Regions from separate parts of the Homo sapiens genome. Here regions 2, 3, 4, 5, 6 and 7 are each linked to region 1. Evidence: promoter capture Hi-C in 16 types of primary human blood cells and fetal thymus (Javierre and others, 2016). All regions are on one chromosome and are shown on one strand. The core of a region is centred on a gene start or on the middle of the fragment in contact, and the rest is flanking DNA. Distances in the headings are between cores, read along the strand shown. Region 1 holds the start of C6orf62 (chromosome 6 open reading frame 62). Region 2 has its middle 130 kb from the start of CARMIL1. Region 3 overlaps LOC124901282 (a long non-coding RNA gene). Region 4 has its middle 170 kb from the start of CARMIL1. Region 5 has its middle 120 kb from the start of RIPOR2. Region 6 overlaps GPLD1 (glycosylphosphatidylinositol specific phospholipase D1). Region 7 has its middle 62 kb from the start of RIPOR2.

The links. The method cuts DNA at HindIII sites, captures the fragments that hold promoters and counts their contacts. A CHiCAGO score of 5 or more calls a contact.
Region 2: a contact is called between a fragment that was not itself captured here and the fragment with the promoter of C6orf62 in region 1, in 8 of 17 cell types (fetal thymus, neutrophils, total B cells and 5 more). The highest score is 7.9, in fetal thymus.
Region 3: a fragment that was not itself captured here is called in contact with the fragment with the promoter of C6orf62 in region 1 in 1 of 17 cell types (neutrophils); the score reaches 5.1 in neutrophils.
Region 4: a contact is called between a fragment that was not itself captured here and the fragment with the promoter of C6orf62 in region 1, in 2 of 17 cell types (activated CD4 T cells and naive CD8 T cells). The highest score is 5.5, in activated CD4 T cells.
Region 5: a fragment that was not itself captured here is called in contact with the fragment with the promoter of C6orf62 in region 1 in 2 of 17 cell types (naive CD8 T cells and total CD8 T cells); the score reaches 5.9 in naive CD8 T cells.
Region 6: a contact is called between a fragment that was not itself captured here and the fragment with the promoter of C6orf62 in region 1, in 7 of 17 cell types (total B cells, naive B cells, fetal thymus and 4 more). The highest score is 9.9, in total B cells.
Region 7: a fragment that was not itself captured here is called in contact with the fragment with the promoter of C6orf62 in region 1 in 11 of 17 cell types (neutrophils, naive CD8 T cells, non-activated CD4 T cells and 8 more); the score reaches 21.7 in neutrophils.

What each region holds. Positions count from the first base shown.
Region 1 is chr6:24,717,304-24,720,633 of GRCh38, forward strand. C6orf62 (chromosome 6 open reading frame 62) reads right to left here and starts at 1,851. Exons shown (of 5, transcript NM_030939.5): 1 at 1,237-1,851. The coding sequence starts at 1,365. RefSeq lists an enhancer at 2,532-3,325 and a silencer at 2,895-3,064. The HindIII fragment of the contact is 3,349 bases long and covers 1,007-3,330 here.
Region 2 is chr6:25,144,217-25,147,546 of GRCh38, forward strand. No RefSeq gene overlaps it. Among named protein-coding and RNA genes, the nearest start is that of CARMIL1, 130 kb to the right of the region's middle. The HindIII fragment of the contact is 1,781 bases long and covers 945-2,725 here.
Region 3 is chr6:25,127,552-25,130,881 of GRCh38, forward strand. All of the region lies in intron 2 of LOC124901282 (a long non-coding RNA gene), which reads left to right. It also overlaps the pseudogene CMAHP. Among named protein-coding and RNA genes, the nearest start is that of CARMIL1, 150 kb to the right of the region's middle. The HindIII fragment of the contact is 6,422 bases long and covers 1-3,330 here.
Region 4 is chr6:25,107,828-25,111,157 of GRCh38, forward strand. It overlaps the pseudogene CMAHP. Among named protein-coding and RNA genes, the nearest start is that of CARMIL1, 170 kb to the right of the region's middle. The HindIII fragment of the contact is 1,201 bases long and covers 1,055-2,255 here.
Region 5 is chr6:25,053,489-25,056,818 of GRCh38, forward strand. No RefSeq gene overlaps it. Among named protein-coding and RNA genes, the nearest start is that of RIPOR2, 120 kb to the left of the region's middle. RefSeq lists enhancers at 618-787, 2,768-2,897, 3,038-3,097. The HindIII fragment of the contact is 4,254 bases long and covers 1-3,330 here.
Region 6 is chr6:24,427,184-24,430,513 of GRCh38, forward strand. It overlaps GPLD1 (glycosylphosphatidylinositol specific phospholipase D1), which reads right to left. Exons shown (of 25, transcript NM_001503.4): 25 at 1-1,935. The coding sequence ends at 1,849. Among named protein-coding and RNA genes, the nearest start is that of MRS2, 26 kb to the left of the region's middle. The HindIII fragment of the contact is 4,577 bases long and covers 1-3,330 here.
Region 7 is chr6:24,996,597-24,999,926 of GRCh38, forward strand. It overlaps a transcript of RIPOR2 not described here. Among named protein-coding and RNA genes, the nearest start is that of RIPOR2, 62 kb to the left of the region's middle. The HindIII fragment of the contact is 8,245 bases long and covers 1-3,330 here.

The sequences.
Region 1 (3,330 bases), core at 601-3,100:
ATACACTGTATCATCTTCAACTAAAATCCAATCTCATCAATTTTGAGTCAGCTTGTCAACAAAACAAAAGTGGAGATGTAAGTCCTTGATACCACCCAATCTTGGGACAGTCACTTCAAAAATTACTTAAAAATCACTTCACAATGCTATACTTCAGCAGCTAAGAATGTTCTTAAATACAAATAACCTTTTAGGAGTTAAGAGTTGGGGCTGTGCGTGGCAGCTCCTGCCTGTAATCCCAGCACTTTAAAATGCCATGACAGGAGGATCACTTTAGCCCAGGAGTTCAAGACTAGCCTGGGCAATACAGTGAGGCCTGTCTCAGCAACAAAAATAATAAGAGTTAAACAGTAGGGGGAAACCTGGAAAACTTCCAGATACTTAATAGATACCACACTAAGATTGTATTTCTGATCTGAAATTAGCTAACAATTTAAGCACCAAAATCCAAGTAGCACTTCCTTACATTCATAACCTCATCTTTGGTCAAATAAGCCTTGCTGATAATTTAAGAAAATGTTCATTTTAAGTTGCAAAAAATACTGCTCTTATCATCCCATCCTTGACTACTCACAACTTACTGTTTGCTATTTAACTGCGGAACTAATTCTGATTAAGACCTCCACCGCCCCTAAAAATGAAACTTCCTCTAGGTCATTTTGAGTTTTTAAAAACTGTACTTCTATACAAGGCAAAATGAACTCTAAGTAAAAAAGAAAATCACACTTCTAAACACAAATTAACCATTTCAGTATTTAATTGCTCCTAAAAGGTGTATTCTACTTCATTAAATGTAAGAGAAAAGGTTACCTACATTACGCAGTTTAAGAAACAGGATAAACTTTAGCATATAAACAGTCTGATTACAATTTCACACTTTCAACCATCTTATTTATACTCTACATTAGATAATCTTTAAATTCCATCATAAGGTTTCCCATGTTAACTCCATATAAAATTTTGTAATCTTGCCCACCCCATGTCAACTCAGTGTATACTACTACTAAGCTTCAGACTCAAATTTATTTCCAAACCAAAGAACGCTCAAGGGTCTTTTCGCATGCTGCAACTGCTCAATTCACAGAATCACCCCTAAGGGTGAAAAAACAGAGCATACAAAGCAGACTTTTTTTCAACCACTCTTTAACCTAATATTCATAATAATTTAAGAGTAACAAATAATATACACTTACAAAAATTACTTGTGCTAATTCACCATTAAGAACTTTAAATTACCTTCTCCTTGAATACAAAGGCAATATACATCTTGAAGTCAAACTGGTCAGCTAGAGATTCTTTTTTCTTTCTAAGCTGAGCACGTAGTCTGTTCAGAGCTTGTTTCTTCCGGGAGTTTGGGTCCCCCATTTTGAAATACAGGTGGTACTAAAGCCTTTGGAAATTGTCACTAAACTATGGGCACTTTTTCTTAAGACTCAAGTACAACAGAAACAAGTCATTTTTTTTCCTGCTAATATGATTGATTAGCGAAAATCACGACTATAACCCAAAAACTGCACCTTCTGTCAATATTAGCAGACTGTCATATTACAGGGTCAAGAAACAAAAGCTGCTGTCCAGTCATGTTTGGACAATAACGTTTGGGGTCAGACGGGAAAAAGGGAGGAAAGAAAGGAAAGAAAGAGGAGAAAATAACTAACTTTCTGGAAAACACATTTGGCTTAACTGCCAAAATAAAGGCTTTGCGGAGAAATGAAAAGCCTATAATCAGGATTTAGGTGTGCAATAAAACACAGCTGACACCAGACCAATCCCTAAAATCCATCCGGATTTTCCCCCCTTTTTAGAAAAGGGATTAAGGAACAGGGAGGGGGAAGTGTGATCCTTGCTTTCCAAAAAAAAAAAAAAAAAAAACTCACCAAAACCAAAACCAAAACCAAACACCAAAACAGGGTAGGTGAATGAAACTGAAATATCCAATTAGATTTTACCCAGCCAGCTCCATGGCTGTAGTACCTAATTCTTAGTTATTTCAGATTTCACTATTGCTATGTATTGTCAGTGCTTGTTATTGATTACACTTGGTGGTGAGCATAGAGAAAAGTGCAAAATCGGTAGAGAAGGAAAGGGAGAGGTACAGGGTTTCCCTGCAATCAACTACAGTGTATACCGGGGGCGGGCAGCTGTGGCCCAAAGGAGCCATGAGAAAAAACAGCGGAGTCATTACCAACTTCCCCATCACCCACATTTTCACCCTCAGGCGGCTGCTAACGCTGCTGCCAAGGAGAATCATGACGGCAGAAGGAAAAGGGGTATATAATACGGTATTAATTATTCCGGCTCTGTGGTTAGACCTGATTAATGCCCGGGTTCCCAACACCCCCAGCCTGCAACTAGTCCTACATTCCCCAAGGGAGACTTCCCTGTGGATCTGCCCCCGTTCAAAATGGTGGGGAGTGCGATTTATCTTCTTGTGAGCATTGCCGAGGCAAAGGTGGCGGGTTCTTCTCCCAAATCCCAGGCGGTGCCCGGAGACCACCTGCCTTCCACCCCCGCAGGTCCCACCCCCACCCCTTGCCTTCAGCGGCAGCGACTCACTCGCACCACGGGAGACACAGGATCACTCAGGTTTTCACTCATTTCATCGTGGAAACAATTCCCGCCCGGGTGGAGTGGGCGGGAGAGGGTAAATGGGAAGGTTCAGTGGGGGAAAAAAAGAAAATAATTGTGTTAATATTACTTCTAAAGTAAGCCCACCCACCCTCCCCCCAAAAAATTAAGTTCCCGGATTAGCTCTCTCTCACGTTGAACAGACCATGTTTCCAGAGTTTGGATTGTTTAGGGTGGGGTCGTTAGTTGTTTCCCGAGGGGCAGGGGGTGGAATTGAGGCAGCTAGGGCGGGGTGGGTGACGGGGAAATCCCCTCCCTGTCCCCGCGGAGCCCGGGACTCACGGACCGACTCTAGGGCGGGGTTTGGGCCCTCTAGCCGCAGCCTGCGGGCGGAGCGGTGGCGGCGGCGGAAGAGGCGGCGGCGGCGGGGGCGCTGCTGGTAGCACGGGCAGGAGCCATGTCAAGAGAAAACCACCAGCCAACTGAGCCCCTCCATCCCCGCTGCAGTGCGCACCGTGACTGGACCGCCCGCGCTGCTGCCGCCGCTCAGCCCCCACCTGGGACCCATAGTCTGGCTCGGCGCCCTGGGCGGCAACGGAGGGGAAGGACGCGGAGACAGCGGCAACAGGGAGAGAAAAAGAAAAAGAGGAAAAACAAAGAGAAAGATGGGGAGTTGGATTGGTACTGGCGGCGGAGGGGGAAGGGAAAGGAAGCCCTGCGCTAAGGGTCAGCAAAGTAACCCCCCAAAATAAAGTTATTTCA
Region 2 (3,330 bases), core at 585-3,084, 430 kb after region 1:
AACTACAGGCTAATTTCTTTCATGAACATAGATGCAAAAATACTCAACAAAATATTATCAGATATAGCAATGGATAAAAAGAATTATATGCTATGACCAAATGGGATTTATTCCAGGCATGTAAGGCTGGTTCAACATTCAAAAGTCACTAATATAATGTATCAAATCAATAGGCTAAAGAAGAAAAGTCACATGATCACATGCATTTGATAAAATCCAACACTCATTCATGATAAAAACTCTCAGCACACTAGAAATACAGTGAAACTTCTTCAGCTTGATAGAGAACATTTACAGCTGGGCACAGCAGCCCATACCCATTAATCTAAGTGTTTTTGGGGGTCAACACAGAAGGATTACTTGAGGCCAGGAGGTTAAGACCAGCCTGGTCAACATAGCAAAACCCCATTGCTAAAAAATAAAAATAAAAAAGCGCCAGGTGCGGTGGCTTATGCCTGTAATCCCAGCACTTTGGGAGGCTGAGGCAGGTGGATCGCCTGAGGTCAGGAGTTCAAGACCAGCCTGGCCAACATGGTGAAACCCCGTCTCTACTAAAATACAACAATTAGCCAGGCATGGTGGCCTACGCCTGTAATCCCAGCTACTTGGGAGGCTGAAATAGGAGAACTGCTTGAACCCAGGAGGCGGAGGTTGCAGTGAGCTGAGCTCATGGCACTGCACTTCAGCCTGGGTGACAGAGTGAGACTCCATCTCAAAAAAAAAAAAAAAAAATTAGCCAGGCATGGCAGTATGCATCTATAGCCCTAGCTACTTGGTAGGCCAATATGTAAGTATCACTTGAGCCCCCAGTTCAAAGCTGGGGTGACCTATGATCACACCACTGGACTCCAGCCTGGGAGACAGAGCAAGACCCTGTATCTTAAATAAATAAATAAATTAATTAATTAATTAATTAAAACATCTACAAAAAATGAGAAAGTAGAAGCTTTCTTACTAAGATAAGGACAAGGCAAGGATGTCGTCTCTCACCACTGCTTTTCTACATTGCATTGAAAGTTCTAGACAATAAAATAGGGCAAATAAATAAATAAGTGGTATACAAATTGGGAAGAAAGAAGTAAAACTGTTTTTGTTCACAGATAACATGATTGCCTATGTAGAAAATCTGAAATAATCAATTCTTAAATGTGGGCTGCACATAGAGACTTCCTTTCATAGAGACTTCCTTTCAAAGAGTACAGTATGGAAATGATGAAAAAAAGAGTAACTTTAACAGTAAGGAAATGTGACAATCCGTCAATATCAACGGTGATAAATTATGTTAGAATGTAACTTTAATATGATGTGGTCTTCCTCCTGCAAACCCATAATCCCAGTCTAACCATGAGAAAAAAAATCAGATAAATTCCAGTAGAGAGGTAACCTATAAAATACATGGTCTGTACTCCTTGAAACTCAAGGTCATCCAAAACAAGAAAAATCTAAGTAAATATTACAGCCAAGAGAAGCCTAAGGAGACATGATAGCTCCTTAGCTAATGTGATGTGGTATCTTAGATGTAACCCTGAAACAGAAAAAGACATTAGGTAAAAGTAAAGAGACCTGAATAAGCTACTCAGCACATTAAGGCAAGAAAAAAAAAAGTCAAACACATAAGGAGTGGAAAGAAAAAAAATCATTTTTGAAGATACTTAGAACTGACTGTATACATAAACATTCAGAAGAACCCACATATAAATTATAAGACTCTGAGAGTTTAGTACAGCTGTTAGATATATAATCAATAGTTTAAGAAATCAATTTATTCTCACATCAGCAATAAAAAATACAAAAATTGAATTTAAAAATATATCATTTAAGATAGCAGAAAAGGCTGAGGTGGATCACCTGAGGTCAGGAGTTCGAGACCAGCCTGGCCAACATGGTGAAACCCCGTCTCTACAAAAAATACAAGATTAGCCGGGTGTAGTGGCACATGCCTGTAATCCCAGCTGCTCAGGAGGCTGAGGCAGGAGAATTGCTTGAACCCGGGAGGCAGAGATTGCAGTGAGCCGAGATCGTGCCATTGCACTCCAGCCTGGGCAACAAGAGAGAAACTCCATCTCAAAAAATAAATAAATAAATAAAAATTAAAAGATAGCATAAAAAATGAAATATCAAGAAATACATTTAACAAAAGATGATCTCTTTGGAGAAAATTATAAAACTCTATTGAGAGATATTAAGTGTATCTATAAACGAAGAGTTATATTATGTTCATAGATAGGAAGCTCAATATTATGAAGATAATCAATTTACTCCAAATTTATCTGTAGATTTACTATAGTCTCAATAAAACCCCCAGAATTTTTTTTTTTTTTTTACAGCTTAAAAACTTACTCTAAAATTTATTAAGATATGCCAAGGGCCAAAAAGAGAAAAAACATTCTTCAAGAAGAACAAGGTGGGAGATGAGAGAGGATTTGTCCTAGCAAATATCAAGACTTATTGTAAGCTATAATAATTAAGATCATATAGTGTTGGCTCAGTGGTAGATAAAATAATCAAGGGAACAGGATAGAGGCCTGGAAACAAGTCCACATATACACCAACACTTGATAAGTGACACTGTAGATCACTAGGGAAAGGATAAATGTTTCCACTAAACTTGCTGGGGTAACTGGGATCCCATATTGGAAAAATAGATTGGACTCTTTCCTTATTCCATAGATAAAAATCAATTTCAGACAAGTTAAAAGACTTACATTTAAAAGATAAACAATCAAGCTTTTGGAAGGTATTTAGGAGAAATTTTTTATAATCTTGGGACACGGTGGATTTTTTTCAACAAAACACAAAAAGCTCTACCCAAAAGGAAAATTATTGCAATTTTAGATTACACCAAAAGAACATATACACCCCAAAACACAATAAAAGAGTAAAAAGGTAAGACACATAATGAAAATTTGCAACATAAATATGACAAAGGATTTCTATGCAGAATATAGAAGAATGTCTATAAATCAATAAGAAAAAGACAATCTATAAGAAAAATGGGCAAAAAGGTTTGAATAGGTACTTCATAAAATAGAATATCCAAATTGTGACTAACTGTATAAACAGAGCTCAGCCTCACTAGCAATGGGGAAGTGAAAATAAAAACCACAATGAAGTACCACTATACTTACCAGAACAACTAAAATTAAAACAACTGCAAGTACTAAATGTTGATAATAGGAGTATGGAAACTCTCATATGTTACTAATGACAATGTAGTGAGGTTCAATCTCATTGAAAAATAGTGTGGCATTCTACACTAAAACAGAGAATACACATATACTGTCACCTAACAATCCTACTCTTAGCTAAGTCTCAACACTGGAGAAATAT
Region 3 (3,330 bases), core at 487-2,986, 410 kb after region 1:
TTATTTTATGACTCCTTTCTCATTGATAAGTAGCCAACAACCTTTCAATTAATTCTGATGGAACATTCCAACTGCAGCTATTTGGCATGCCAGGCCATGAAAGGGAAAATTGGCAGAACCATGCGGTCATAGATGACAGGGAGACAACAGTTTTCCAGTTAGAGGAGGTTGTGAAAAATTGATAGGCTTTAAAGATGAGAATCATGGCTTATAGGATTTGTTGATCTTGGTTGTGTTGAGAAGAAAAATGGCTGAATAATGGTGGGTAGAACAGGTAGGTCTCTGTTCTTGGCTGGAACCTAGAAACTAGAAAAGACAGTTTCTTCAGATAAATAGCTACGAAGAGAATCCAACTATAATTTACTGAACTCAGAGAAGTGGATGGGAGAATACAGAGCATAAGTTAACACAGAAATGCAGTCTCAACGTGCAAATGCTTGGTGAGCTGCATCTGGGAATAAAGCTGGCAGAACCTGCTTCCTCATGGGCAGGAGAGCTAAGAGGGGAGGACTAATGTGTCAAGAGAACAGGTCAATCACCTGTAAGGCTTTGAATGAAGAAGAGAAAGGCTAGTCTGTGGGAAAGCAATCACTATACTTAGATGAGCATATTAGATACAAAAACAATCTGAGTTCCTGTAAAAAAGTCCCTCTGTATAAGCTACACAAGAAGCTCATTGCAGAGAAATAGTAACTATAATTCACTTTTTTGAGGTGCTTGCCATATACCACCATATGGCATTCTTTTAAGTTTTATGTGTTTGGCATCACTTAATCCTCTCAGCAACCTGACAAAGTAGGTAATATTTTCATCCTCATTTTAGAAATGAGAAGACCGAGGTCCAGAAAGGCTAAGAAACCTGTCGAGGGTTATGACCTAGCTAGTAAGTCGTGGAATCAGGCTTCTAAACCAGGTAGTCTATAAGGAGAGATGATGCTCTTAATCAGTAAACTTTAAGGCCTCCTTAAATGGCTGGCTAAGTGGCACTCTGTGAAATGGCCCGCTAAGTTAAAAAACTAGGAGAGGAAACCCAGAGACAGAGTCCCAAAGCTGTAATAGTTGGAAGAGAAAACTCCAACACCTTGAAGTGCTGGCGGAAGTTTACCAGTGACAGAACTATGTCTGAGGCTTCACTGACTTGAATCCACCCAGAAGATGGAAGAACATCAAAATGGGCCATCAGGGAATTACTTAGAGGTTCTCCTAGAGCAGAGTTGCCAGCTAAAAGGGTGTCCCATTAACTACTTTGGACATATTTATACTAAAAATACATTAGTTTTTTTAAATCTGAAATGCACATTTAACTGGGCATCCTGTATTTTTATTGGTCAAGCTGGCAGCCCTATCTGAGGAGCCAAGCAAGCTACAGGTGCAATACTGGTGTGAAAGGAAAATATCTTGGGCCCCCCAAATCGCTAAGCTAAAAGGGAAAGTCAAGCTGGGAACTGCTTAGGGTAAACCTGCCTCACATTCTATTCAAAGTCACCCCTCTGCTCACACTGAGATAAATGCATATCTGATTGCCTCCCTTGGAAAGGCTAATTAGAAACTCAAAAGAATGCAACCAATTATCTCTTATCTACCTATGACCTGGAAGCCCCCTCCCTGCTTCAAGTTGTCCTGCTTTTCCAAACCGAACCAATGTTCATCTTACATATGTTAATTGATGTCTCTTGTCTCCCTAAAATGTATAAAACCAAACTGTGCTCTCACCACCTTGGGCATATATCATCAGGGCCTCCTGAGGTTGTGTCATGGCCAAATGTCCTCAACCTTGGCAAACTAAACTTTCTAAATTAACTGAGACCTGTCTCAGATTTTCAGGGTTCACATTTTGGTAACCATGAAGGGATTCTGAGTGGAGATGCCCCTGACCTTTGACAAATCTATGCTTGGTACCAGCATGAGCTAACTTTATGGCTCAAACCAATAGGACAATTTGCTGAGGCCTGAGAGCACCCCCTCCAGAGAATCCCTGATGTCCCCAAATGTGGTAGAGATCTAAAGTTTATTTTGCTGGAAAAAAAAAAAAAAGCAAGTAAAATTCCAAAAAAACTTTTACTTGCTTCCAAAAAGGAAGGGAAGATTTCCTGTTTCCATGGCTATGGAAGACAGGTAACTCTTTTATGGAGTTTGAGCTCACTTCCAACAGGGAAGATGAGTTTTTTTTCTCTCTGCTTCTAGTATGGTAGAGAGCAGTCTACACCCTGAGACCCATCCCTAGCTAAGTAACTGAATTGGGGTTTGTCTTGGCTAAAGTTAAGATTAACAACCAGCTGGTCTTAATTTCTCCTTACTATTAGAGTACTCAGTAATGATATAAGTTGTGTGATTGTTTTGCTTAACTGTTTTTGTTGTTGTTGTTGTTCATTCCTGTTTTCACTGTTGTTTTGGACTTTTTCCCATTGGGTTTGATCAACTCTATCCAACTTGATCAAATCCAAAGGAAATTCCAAATTATGGGGAACAAGGCCTCTGAAGTGGCTAAATTCTCACACACACACACACACACACACACACACTCACGCACACACGTGGTATGGGGTGGAGGGGAAAAAATGGCCAGAAAAAGGAAAAAAAAAAAAAACAAAAAGAAAAATTTTTTATTCTAAGGGTCTTCATTTACATAACAAGGCCACCTTTTTGTTAGCCAGGCCAAACTGAAAGAGCAATGGCTGTACTTCTGAAATAGCAGCAATTTGTCCTAGCTGAAATATGGTAATGAGATTTTAAAAGTTTTTTTTTAAGGAGCTCAATGGTTAAAAGTCAGCTTAATTAAAACCTAACATCCAAGATGCGTGCGTGTGTGCGCACGCGCGCACGCATATGTGTGTGTTTGTATTTAAAAGGACTTCATGTTTTTGTTTTTCTCCTGGGACCTTGTCTTTTTTTTTTTTTTTTTTTGAGCAAAAGTTTTTTTCTTTTCAGTTGACAGAATTCTGTTTTCTTCATTTACTTCTACTATCTCTCCTTTCTCTTGCACCCTCTGCTGCATGGAGGACCTAAAATAGTTTATAATAGCCTGGGGTTCCTTAAAGAAAATGGAGAAGGCACCAGACTCCCTTTCCAGGGAAAACAAATTTTTTCAAGAATGTAAACAGACAAGTTTGTCTCAGTTCTCGAACAGCTTACTTTTGTATTGTGTTACTTTTTTTTTTTTTGACTAAAATAGTTATTGCAACAGAGGTTACTCTTGGGTTTTTAAGGAAGAATGTGGCTTAGACACTTAGAAATGTCTTTAATTTTTTTTTTTTTCTGAGTGCACTGTAAAAGCACCACGTAGCCTAATCTCATATTAATTCTCCCTTTTTGGAGACCCAGGATTCAGTA
Region 4 (3,330 bases), core at 405-2,904, 390 kb after region 1:
GGACAGAACCTTCCCTCTATTTCTCATGTGGTTACACACTCCGGGAGGCAATGAATATAGACTTAGAGAAGAAAGCAAAGAACGGGACAAAGGTTATCTTCATATTGCAAAGCAGGGCATTTTCTGCCACACTGTTAGACAGGGATCACTTATCAGATACATTAATTTATTAAGTGGACATGTATTGAGCACTTACAATACTAGTGTTGAGGATACACACTTCCCCAATGTCAACCCCAACCCCACTCTTGGACCCAGAGCAGAAGGGCTCCTGCCTAAGACCCCCAACCAGAGGACCCTCCTCTGGGTGCACTAGAGGTCCCCAACTAGAGGACTCTCTTCTGGGCACACTGCTCCCTGATATGAGCATCCACAGTGCCAAGGGGATGTGTCTACATTGAGGCTGCACACACCCCATTAGGAACCATATTCCAAGAGCACCTAAGCCTGGATGACCCACTTCAGGCCTTTCCTGTTCTGCTCTACGGTCTACATGGTGAATCCAGATGATTCTCTTTCTTGGCTCCTCCTGAGGTGCTCTCAGATCTCAACATTTCCTTCATGCTCCATCATGTTTTGAGCTAGAAACCTTAGTTGGTAATCTGCAACTTACAAATCTGGTTTCCCAATAAGATTGCATGCTTCTTGTGGGGAGGGATCATGTCTCAATTACATTTGTATTTACTCTTACAGCATTTAGCAATGTGCCATGCGTGATACTTGGTATCACTTTCATACAAAATATTACCCGTAAATTTTCCACCACTGAAAGTCATTGGAAAGCCTGATGCTCCTCCAGCAAAATCACTCATCATTAGAGCAACCTTCATAGGCAGCCTTCCCCCATTGGGTCTGGTGCAGTCTACTATATTGAGTATTTTATGACCTGTGGAGAAACAAAGAGGTATAGATATTCAAGGTGAAATCTTGAACACCCATAGTTTGAATTCCAAGACAAGGACTTCTGTATACAGTCTGTATAATTGAACTTATTTGATTATAGAAGAATTGATTATATCAAAGGAAAAACAAACAGTAAGATTTTAAAACTTAAAGCTTTCAATAGTATATTTTCTGAATTTTCAAGCGACTAAATTCATCCCATTTGACTTGGTGGATACTAGGTGTCTCATGAAGACTTTTATCTTAATTCCACTCTAGCTCATAGATAGACTGCTTTCTTCTGTCAACTTTTTCCAGGTGTTGAGCCCAAAGGATCAGAAAAAAGTGGATTAACATACTTCCCTGTACCTTTTGCAAATTACATGCAAAGCTCATATTCAAATGATTGTTGGGGCAGTAAGGCCATCTTTTCATATGAAAAGCAGTGCATGATTATATTACATGATATTTCTAGGTGAAAGTAATAAAAGACATTTATTTAATAAATGTAGTTTTGAAGAAATCACTATAGGTGGAATGTAAAATATCTATTGCCTTATGAAAGAAATCTTTGCTCCTGTCACTATCTAGATGACATTATTTCTAATTTGTTTTCTGGAAAAATTATTTGAAAGATAGCTCCATATTTCTAGAACAAGGATATAACACGCTATATTCTTTCAAAATGGAGCTAAAAGATGAACATGTGATGAAATTTCATATAGATATTACCATCCTTCCTATTAAGAATGTTTTCCATTTTTCGTTATCAATGGGGATAAAAACATACCTTTGTACTCCACAATAATGCAAGTGTCCATCTCAGGATGAACACCGTCCATCAAGATCATGAATCGAAGATTTTTGTCCACCTGGAATTTAACAACAAAACCAACAACTGTGAATTTCAGTTTGGTTTTTAATTCAGTATTTGAGAAGGTAATCACCTGTTCTGGAAAGACTGGTCAATTGAACCTCACATTTGAAGAAATTTCCTTATTCAGAACTAGATTTATTACCTGTTCTGTAGAGTTGTACTATAATAGTATGGGTTAATAGAAAGAAAATCATCTTTGCCCAGGACAGTCTGCCTAACATTTGAATCACAAATAGAGGTTGTGTTTATGCAGTATCAGGGACATACCACATTGACCCATTTTTTCCTTAATCTTACGGTGACTATCTCACCTAACATTCATCACAGAAAGCATAACTGGAAAGCATGGAAAGAAAGCAGATTTCTGACCTGCTGCCATATTCCAAATGGCACGACATTGATATTAGTCAACTGGACACCGCTCTGATTCAGATTCCAAAATACAGGCCTTTCTGTGTTTCCAACATAAATGGGAATATCTGGTCTTCTCCCAGCAAGCTTTTTCAGTGTGGGGTAACTAGGATAAGACAGATGGAAAGGTTGAAAAGAGAAAAAAATAGTGTCATCTAGTATGACAGACAGTTTGTTCCTTATACCAACATATTGACAGAGAAGTGAGGAATTGAAAAACTGGACTCTCACCAGAGTCCAGAGAAAAGTTTCTGTTCAAGGATGACTGTGAAAGTGACGGGAGATTCTGAGGGGATTCATCTTTGTTGTTAGAACATATCAAATGCTCATGGTGTGGACATCAACCAGGTAGGTAAGTTCCATTTTCCACAGTGATGCTGCTTGAAGGAGGGGTAGTTCTAACAGTAGGCACAGACGAGAAAAAGTCATGCTGTAGAGGAAAGAAATGAAGATCACGGAGATCCTCATTTCTTTGCATGCTTCAAGCAGTAGCTCTCAGTAAGAGAGAGGACTGGGACATAGTACAGGACAAAAGCCCATGTCTCGGACCATTTTGGGGGTTGGTTTTTCAACCTTCAAAGATTCTGTCCCTTTTTAAGGATAAATAATATATTTTGTATATTAAAGCCACACTTTAACAGACTATATTATTCATCCTTAAGGAGGGACAGAATTACCAGCTAGGCAAGACAGTAAAATTTAGTGTTGAGGAACTACATCCAACATTTGTAGTAATCCCAACTCAGTGCACAACAATCATCCAAGTATTTTTGACTATCTAGACATATTAAGTCGGCTTTTATTTATTGAGCATTCATTATATAACAGAGTTATTATACCACTGTAGGGTGTGGTAGAAAGTTGAATAAACAAACAAATGATTACACATCTATTATATTTCAAACTTGGTGCTGGGGCAGTTTTACATACTATGTTAGTCAATTCTTATCAAAAAGCTATGAATTTTTTGTTTTTGTAGATGAGGAAACATTCAGAAATATACAACACACAGTAAACTGGTATTCAAATTTGGGTTTTCTGATTCTAAACCTAGTGCTTCTTCTATAAGAAGAAAGTTTCTAACTTTAATGAACATATTATCTGGTTTAAGAATCAGACTTGTACACAGAGTATAAGATCAGGTAAAATAAGATATATAA
Region 5 (3,330 bases), core at 568-3,067, 340 kb after region 1:
TTGCCATCTGCAGACAGCTTAAGTGTTAATAGCTCAGTGGAGCATCAGCACGATAGCCTTTTGCAACCACACTCATGGCACCCAAGTTCTTGTCCGGCATCCAGGAGGAACGAGGTTGCACAAACAAGTTGAAGATGGTAAATGCAGGGGACTTTATTGCCAATGAACGTGGCTCTCAGCAGGAAGGGGAGCCAAAGAGGGGATGGAGCAGGAAGGTAATCTTCCCCTGAAGTCTGGCTATCCCCAGTCAGACTCCTCTCTGAAGCTATGCCATCAAGCTGTCCCTCTGAAGTCAAGCTGCTTCTCTCCAACTTCCAACCATAGTCCTCGTTGTCCAGCTGCTTCTCCTTTCTCTGCTGGCCAAGCCTGGGGTTTTTATGGGCACAGAATGAGGGGCAGGGTGGGTTATGGGTGGTTTTGGAAAGGGCAACATTTGAGCAGGAAAGCAGGGATGTAAGTTCTCACTTTGGGCTGCAGTATCAAGAGTTTCAGCTTGAGAGTGGGGACCTACCCAGGGAACTGCCCTCTTCTGCGCAGAATTTCCCTGCTTCCTGTTCCTATCAACAGTAACTAGGTGTCAACTTACTAATTTAGCCACCCAGTGGCTGTCCCAAGAGCCCTCTAAATCTGCAATCACTGGAAGGCCTCACTGAAAAGTCTTCCTTTCTTCTGTGATTAAGGGCCTGATATTTTAACTTTTAGAATAACTTATTATGCAAATAGTGACCAATTGACATCAGTGGAGCAGAGTTGCCTTTATGAGTCAGAGTAGAGACAAGAGAGAGGTCTGTTTTCTCTCTTGATTAAATCAGCCCCAACGGAACAGCCCTGATTTAAACAGAAAAACATTTTTAAAGTAGTGATCTGTTTAACTTTTGTGGTGAGCTCCCTCTGGAGAAATATCTAGATGTAGAGGAGAAATATTTCCTTATTATACTTAGTTTTAAAAAGTCACTTTTTCTTTGACCTTAATGCCATGAGATTTGGATCCTTTTCAGTCTCGGCAGAAGAGAAGTGGGTTAAAGACTCCACCACCCGAAGGCAGCTTCTCTTCTTTTTACCTATAAGTAAACCATGAAATCAGAATCTCCCAGAACTTCAGAGCCAATGAGACCTCAGACATCACTGCCCCATACCTTCGTTTCATGGTAGAGGGAACAGAGCCTCAGGAGGAGAAATGTCTTGTCAACAGCCACAAAGCTAGTTAGTTCCTAAGGCATTATTAATAGTTCTGACTCATAGCTCAGGGCTCTTTCCATATTCACAAACCATTGCAAACCAGACTTCCCAGTTATAAAATATATGTGTTTTTCACCAATGTTTTAAACATTGTATTTTATGTGTGAGCAACCAGCATAACAAAGACCATCTTTTAAAACTTGTGCTATGAAACCAGAGATTCTCAAAAGTTTCATGCAGCTTGTTCCCAAAGGGACATCTGATTAGAGTAACATCTATTCTTATACATTTTTAGGATGGAGGAGGAAGCAATTGAAGGGAGATAAAGAAAGGAACAATAAGGGGTCTTTTCTCCTTGACATCTCTGCCAAGGCACCTTGACTCATGAGAGTGTCCAGCCTACTTGAGGAAAATTGTCCAAGAAGTCTAAAGGTTTCTTCCTTATGAGGTTAATTCAATTCACTTTTTAAAAATGTAGTAGGCACTGGGCATACAAAGATGAATGATACCCTTTATCCTGGGAGCTTAAAATCCAATGGAGAATGTAGAAGATACACAATACAGGTGGCCCTCCATATCTGTGACTTCTGCATACTAGGATTCAACCAACCTCAGTTAAAAATATTTGAAAAGGCTGGGCGTGGTGGCTCACGCCTGTAATCCCAGCACTTTGGGAGGCCGAGGTGGGCGGATAATGAGGTCAGGAAATCGAGACCATCCTGGCTAATACGGTGAAACCCCATCTCTACTAAAAATACAAAAAATTAGCTGAGCGCGGTGGCGGGCGCCTGTAGTCCCAGCTACTCGGGAGGCTGAGGCAGGAGAAAGGCATGAACCCGGGAGGCGGAGCTTGCAGTGAGCCGAGATCGCACCACTGCAGTCCGGCTGGGCGGAAGAGTGAGACTCCGTCTCAAAAAAAAAAAAAAAAAAAAAGGTTTGAAAAAATAAAAAATAATAAAACCACAATAAAAATAATACAAATTGAAAAGCAATACAGTATAAGGACACAGCATTTATATGTATTAGGTATTATTAGCAATCAAGAGATATTTAAAGTATATGGTAGGTTGTGCGCAGGTTACATGCAAATACTACACTAGTTTATATCAGGGATTGAGCATCTGAGGATTTTGGTGTCCTCAGGGGTCTAGAACTGATTCCCCACAGATACGGAGAGACAACTTGTCACTATACTACCAGATACAATGTGATTGGTGTCAGAGCAGCAGCAGTAAGTCATTTAGGCACCCAGAAGATGGAGAACCAATTCTGACAGGAGGAGGAAACTCAAGGCAGGTTTGGGGAGGAGGTGGCGTTTGAGCGATACTTTGAAAGATGGGGAATGAATCCAGGAGTGGAGAGGAGTGAAGAGAAGGGCATTCTTGGCCAAAGACACACAAGAGCAAAGGCTGTGAGGGAAGACGACATACCGTTATGAATGGGATGAAAGAAGGAGGGAAGGTTGGGAACAGAGGGTGCAGCCTGTTCCCAAAGGCAGGCCTGAGGGGAGGCCACTGCTGGAGGAAGCACAGCCTTTCTAGTTGCAGTAAAGAAAGAGAAGCTAGCCTTGGCATCGTGGGCCTCCTTCACCACTTGGGTGCCCTTCCTCTTCAGGAGACCACAGTTCTCAGGCTTCCTCCCTTCACCACAGCTGGCTTGAGCAGGAAGTATGGTAGATACTCATTCATACCACAGGGTGTTGCCATGGAAATGGATCAAAGTAAGGTGATATCCGAAGAGAACAGTAGCTGCCACTTAGAGCCTCAGAGAGGGGAGAAAGCCTTAATGGAGACTTCACACTCTAAGGTGTGGTCCAGAGTGTGCCTACGACCCAAGGCACCAAGACAAGACCTATCACCAGGAACTACCTCGCGAACTAAGCAAAATCTCAACAGAACAATGTACACCCACATCCGAAAGAAAATATGCTGGCGTGTAAAAAAGGAAGAAAAACTACCAAGAAAAATTAAACATTTCAGTTAACTGGCCAACGTATTTTAAAATGAAACAAACTTTTAAAAATACAAAAATATAAGCATTTATTGAGTGCTTACTATACACCAGACTTTGTGCTAAAGGTTTTTGAGGCATTATCTCCCACACACCTGGAAGTCCAAATCACAATCCAAAATGTGCTTAGTGAGAGTGGAA
Region 6 (3,330 bases), core at 335-2,834, 290 kb before region 1:
GAAACTGAAACCCTATGATACATTCCATTCCCTTAAGTGTGCCACGCTGCAGGACTGACAAATGAAATCCATCCTACGAAAAACAGCCCAGGAACAAGCGAGGCCAAGGCCTGCTTTCCTCTCCGGCCCTTACAGTAGCGTGTGGCTCAGGCCACATCTTTTCCCTCTAGTTCTTTTGGCACAAGTTGTAACCTAATGCGACAAAGGTCCCTCATGAGATGGCTTAAAACTAGCAGTGTCGCTAGGCTCTTTAGGTGTTAGAACAGCCAACTCTACAAAAGTATTGGAGGGCACAGAAGGGTGATAGTCTTGGTTTTTATATTTGTCCTTCACTATATAAACATTGAAAAGGTATTAATCCTCATTAAGAAAGGATTATCGGCCAGGTCCTGTGGCTCACACATGTAATCCCAGCACTTTGGGAGGTCAAGGTGGGTGGATCACCTGAGATCAGGAGTTCGAGACCAGCCTGGCCAACATGGTGAAACCCTGTCTCTACTAAAAATACAAAAATTAGCCGGGCGTAGTATTGTGCACCTGTAGTCCCAGCTGCCTGGGAGGCTGAGACAGGAGAATCACTTGAACCTGGGAGGCGGAGGTTGCAGTGAGCTGAGATCACATCACTGCACTCCAGCCTGGGCAACAGAGCAAGACTCCGTCTCAAAAAAAAAAAAAAAAAAAAAGGACTATCATCCTTAGCAAACTAACACACGACCAGGAACAGAAAACCAAATACCAAGTATAGCATGTTCTCACAAGTGGGTGCTAAGTTAAAAGAACTTATGAACACAAAACAACACACACTGGGGTCTACTTGAGTGGGGAAGGTGGGAGGAACAGAAAAGATAAAACCTTCACATGTACCACTGAACCTAAAATAAAAGTTAAAAAGGACTAAGTCACAAGTGATTTGGAATGTGAGGTTATCCCTCACCCCCATGCTTTACTCTGTACTATTTTTCCTCCCTCAGTTTCTTTTTTTTTTTTTTTTCTGTATACTATGCTTTCTATTATACTTTGATTGGCATGGGCCAATCTGTTATTTTTAAGTTCAACTTTTTTTTAACTTTTAAGTTCAGGGGTACATGCGCAGGAAGTGCTGGTTTGTTACATACATAAAGGTGTGTCATGGGGGTTTGTTACACAGATTATTTCATCACCCTAAGTATCCATTAGTTATTTTTCCTGATCTCTCCCTCCTCCCACCTTCCGCCCTCTCATAGGCCCCAGTGTGTGTTGTTTCCCTCTATGTGTCCACGTGTTCTCATTTAGCTCCCACTTACAAGTGAGAATATGGAGTGTTTGGTTTTCTGTTCCTGCAATAGTTTATGAAGGATAATGGCCTCCAGCTCCATCCATGTCCCTGCAAAGGGCATGATCTTGTTCTTTCTTTATGGCTGAACAATTCTTTTTTTAAAAAAGGATGTTTTTAGGAGGAATTGTGTACAGAGACTGTTCTAACAGATAACCACAGAGGGACCTTTCCAGCCATTGGAAAGACATTCAAGAGGAAGAGGAAATAGGTTGTACAGCAGGTCTGACTACAGGCAATAAGTTGGGAAAGAAGAAAGGTTTAGATGCAAAGGGAGCGAGGAAGTAAACTGTGGAAGGAGACATGAGTAAGCAGAATGTCTGCTATTTCACATATTTCTGGTGCAGTCATATATTTACTGTATCAGATTTCCAGAGGGTGTGGCTGTTAGTGTGTCTCTCTACTCCCAGGAGCCCCATGTCTATCAGGATCTACCACCGCTCCACTGGATGTGCCACTTTGTCCATCAAAATGCTCACCATGGATGTGATTCAGCATGAGAGAGGTGGGCAGAGTGGGGAAATGCAGTGAAATCTTCAATCTGAGCCAAGGCTATAGACGTGAAGTGCCCCGGAGAGTCGGGCTCCCAAAGAACTCCTTCCAGCAGCAATGACGACTTGGTTCTGTAAGGGACACAAGACAGAATTCATGGCTCATTCATAACATCTATTGAGTTCCTATGGTAGTCCAGGCATCATGCTATGCTCTAGAAATATAAAGATGAATAAGACACTGGCCAGATCCCCTGGCTTGAACTCAAATGCCACTTTCCCTTTGTTTACAGACCGCTTTCTCACATCTATAAGTTCTGAAAACCGCAGCTAAGGATGCTCACCCCAATCCCTATTCTGGCACATAAATCATAAAGGAGAAGTAGGGCAGTGCATGCTTAGTTCTGGTACAATGTGGAAAACATATCTTGAATAGTAAGGACTTCCCCTAGAAGCTGGCTTTGTCAATGTGTTTAGCGTACCTCCCACCTACCCTGCTGCTTAAAACATTTTAGGACCCATCTTTCAGAATTGCCTTCAAAACCTGCTGCAAGTTTTTAAAACATTTTCTTCTTTTTTGAAACAGAGTCTTGCCCTGTCACCCAGGCTGGAGTGCAGTGATGTGATCTCAGCTCACTGCAACTTCTGCTTCCTAGTTTCAAGTGATTCTCATGTCTCAGCCTCCCGAGTAGCGGAGATTACAGGCATGTGCCACCACATCTGGCTAATTTTTGTATTTTTAGTAGAGACGAGCTCTCACCATGTTGGCCAGGCTGGTCTCGAACTCCCGACCTCAAGTGATCCACCCGCCTCGGCTTCCCAAAGTGCTGAAATTACAGATGTGAGCCACCATGCCTGGTCTTTAAATATTTTCAGTGGTGGCAAATCTTCATACTCCGAGGTCGGATTTGATTTGTGGAAACTGACAAAAGTTATTCTGAACCAAAGCTGGCACATGAGGTACGGGTGATCAAACTGGCTGACAGTATTTTGGTCAGAGCAGGATATGACAGTTTCTTATTTAATTTTGAAAACTACTGATGAAATCTAGAAATAATAATAATAGCTAAAATTTGTGGAGGTTGTATCATGGGTCAGACACTATGCTTAGCCCTGTGCTTATCTTATCCCTTAATACCCAGTGTCAATTAATAGGGAAAATCTACACTTAAGAAAACAGCATCAAATGGTACTTTATTCTCCCTCTCTTTCCCAATTTATGGAATTACTCATTTACTAAATTTGCCTGGCCTTCGGCTTCACTCTGTTTTGTCAGAGTCTAGTCATCTTTCCAGATGCAGCTCCGGGCCCATGATCTCTGCAGGCCCTTCCCTGACTCCACCAGCAGAGACTTCTGCTGCAGTTGCTGTCTGACCTCGTTTGGCTCTTGGTCATCATACACCAAACTGGATGGTCTTGTGGGCCTGCTGTATTTTCCCACCTAGACTACAAGCACCTGGGGCTGGGACCATGTCTCAGGTTTCTTTGTCTATCTCACAGGTGCTTGATACAACACTGCTCACTATA
Region 7 (3,330 bases), core at 553-3,052, 280 kb after region 1:
TAGTCCAACTGTGTCCAACCACGCTGATGTACTTGACATTTCCAATCAACACTGTTTACTTTCAACACCCAGGTGAGAGGCTTCTCTAAGAACCCCTTCCCCAATTCTTCTGAGCCCTTGGGAAAAGTAAGCCACTTCCTTTAGTGTGATACTTCCTCTGCGTGACTCAGGCACTTTATACAGGCTTCTATTATAGCACTTACTGTATTGTTCATAGTTAACTTCTCCATTGCACTAGGAGGTCCCTAGAAGGCAGAGCCCTTAAACTTTTCAATTTTGTATTCCTAGCACATAGCATAATGGACAACTCACAGGCGGTACAGAACAACTACTTGGAAATTAATGACATTTTATGGGTCTAACTTGTTTTGGAATGGGTTTTCCTTAGGGGCAATCATACATACGCTGAAGCGGCTACAAGTGTTCCTTCTCAATCTCACAGTTTCAAATGTGAATTACTAACTAGCGAGGATGGAGTCCAATGATTTTCAACCTTGTCTGCTCATTGGGCTCACCTGCAGAGCTTTTAAAACTCCCAACATGCAGGCCATAGCACACAACAATGAAATCAGAATCTCTGTTGGTGGGATGCAGGCATTTGTGTTTTAAAAAACTCCCCAGGTGATTCTAATATACAGTTAAGCCTGAGAACCACTAGTTTGAGTGTTCCTAGGTAGTTAATTTAAAAAACCTTTTCCTGTATGCTCACTATGTAGTAAACACTGCGTTAGGCATTTGGAGGGGAGGTGGGGTGGGAAGGTAGTATTTGGCCCAGAAAGAGGAAGAGCCTCAGAATTTCTATATTAGACATAGTGCTTGCTTTTAGGAAACTGCAGTCCTTACAGCCTCCATGAGCAATAGCAAATGGTGATGGTATCTAAATTGTATGGTTTAAATCAAGGTTTCCCAACAGTGGTATTTTGGGTTAGATAATTCTTGATTGTGGGAGGCTGTCCTTGGCATTGTAGGATGTTTTGAAGCATCTCTGGCCCCTACCCACTAGATGCCAGTAACAAGCAAAAGCACTCCTCACTTCCTACTGCCACAGTATATAACAACCAAAAATGTCCAACATGTCCAAATGTTCCCTGGGAGTAAAGTCATCCTTTGTTGAAAACCATTGATATAGAGCTCAGTGTAGCATCCTTTGCAAGACCCCCAGGTGATCTGTATGCACATTAAAGTCTGAGAAACACGCACTGGTTTAAAGCAGTGATTCCCGAAGTGTGGCCCGTGAGCAGCATCAGCATCATCTGGGAACTTGTTGGAAATACATCCTCAGTCCCCACTCCAGACCTACTGAAACCAAAACTTTGCTTCGGTAAGTCCTTTGGGTGATTCTCACACTTAGGTTTCAGGGCCACTAACTAAAGGGGAAAAGGAGATTGGATGCACTGGAGCAATCAAAAAAGTCTTAGGAATAGAGCTTGATTTGGGCCTTGAAATTGAATAGGCGGTGGGGAGGGTATTCCAGGTGCAGAGAACAGCATGAGAGAGGATTTTCAGATGTAAATTAGCCCACACTCTTAAACTGCCAAGCCCCTCTTTTTCTCCTTTTCCCCTTAACTTCCTCAATCTGTTTGTTTTCTTGTGTTTTGGATAGAAAACGGTCTCCTCTGCAATTTATACTCCATGATGTGTTCATCAGCTTGCTCAAGTAATTCTTTGAGAATCTCAACAAAATGATCACTTGCAAAAACACAGGAGTGTGTTTTTGAAAAGTTGTGAATAATCAAATTTACCATCAGACATATGTACAAATCAGTACATATTTACAAATGTATTTCTCATTTACAAGGATTTTATATTGCAAACCATTTTTATAAAGTTAATAGCAATCCCCCAAGGGATATTTTTGGTGACTATAAATACAGATGTTTCTATCAAAAAATCTAGCATCCCAAATCTACCCTCAAATCTGCAACTAGAATGATATTTCTAACCCAGAAAATCTGATTCCTTTGTTTCCATGTTCAAAGCCTTTCAACGTCTCTCCATTGCCCCTATACAAAATGCAAACTGCTTACCATTTTTCACATGATTTTTTACCACCTGGATCCTATATATTTCTCATCTATAGACTATGGGCAAAAAAAATCTACAATAAACAAAATATCAAAAAATTAGGTGAAGACAGGCTGCTGTTATTTGTTTTATGACCCTGGGTTATTGTGGAACAGGAATTCCAATCGGCCCAAGGTTGGCCAGGACAGACCTTGTCAATGAGAGTTGACAATGGCACGGGAACAGATTGGACAATGTGGAACTTTATATGCAGTCATTTTTTTTTTTTTATTGTAGAGCTTGTATTGACTTCTTCCACAAACTATAGGAACATTTTTGGGTGAATGTACACTATAGGGATGCATATTCCTTTTGCCTCAGGCTCCAGGGTGACTCCACATAGCACTGAATCAGAGTGTTCCTTCCTCCTAATTGATCTGGGAGATCAAATGAAGGCTGATAGGGAATCTTGGGGATGTTGATTTGGATGTGAGACAGGAAACTTACAGGGTGGTTACAGGAGAATAAAAATTCCAGGCAGCAGTTTCACATAACTAGAGGCTATGGGCTGATAAGACCCTGAAAAACCAGGTGTGGACCAAGCTGACTGAGACTGACTGGACCCAACATGGAGCTGGATCCTACTTAGGTTTCACCTAGGACCTTATTATATGCTCATTAACATACAAATCACACACCTGCCAGTGCCATGACAGTTCCAAGAACATCTATACTTGCTGGAAAAGTGGGCGGCATGACAATTCTGAGAAATCTCCACCTTTTCCCAGGAATTTTCGTGAATATTCCACCCCTTGCTTTGGTTAAAGAAACCCATGAAGGTAGCAACCCCAAACCCCCTTGTGCATGACTCTTGTCTACAACCACATTCCCTTCTCTTGAGTGTGTAATTTTCCCTCTGCAACAAATCTCTGTACTTTCACTATTTTCTGACTCATCCTTTTTTTTTTTTTTTGAGACAGAGTCTCGCTCTGTTCCCCAGGTTGGAGCACAGTGGCATGATCTCGGCTCACTGCAAGCTCCACCTCCCGGGTTCACGCCATTCTCCTGCCTCAGCCTCCCAAGTAGCTGGGACTACAGGCGCCCACCACCACGCCTGGCTAATTTTTTTGTATTTTTAGTAGAGACAGGGTTTCACTGTGTTAGCCTGGATGGTCTTGATCTCCTGGCCTCCTGATCCACCTGCCTCAGCCTCCCAAAGTGCTGGGATTACAGGCATGAGCTACCGCGCCCAGCCCTGACTCATCCTTGAATTCCTTCTTGCAACAGTGTCAAGAGCCTGGACACCAGCTGGAGTCGAGGTCTCAA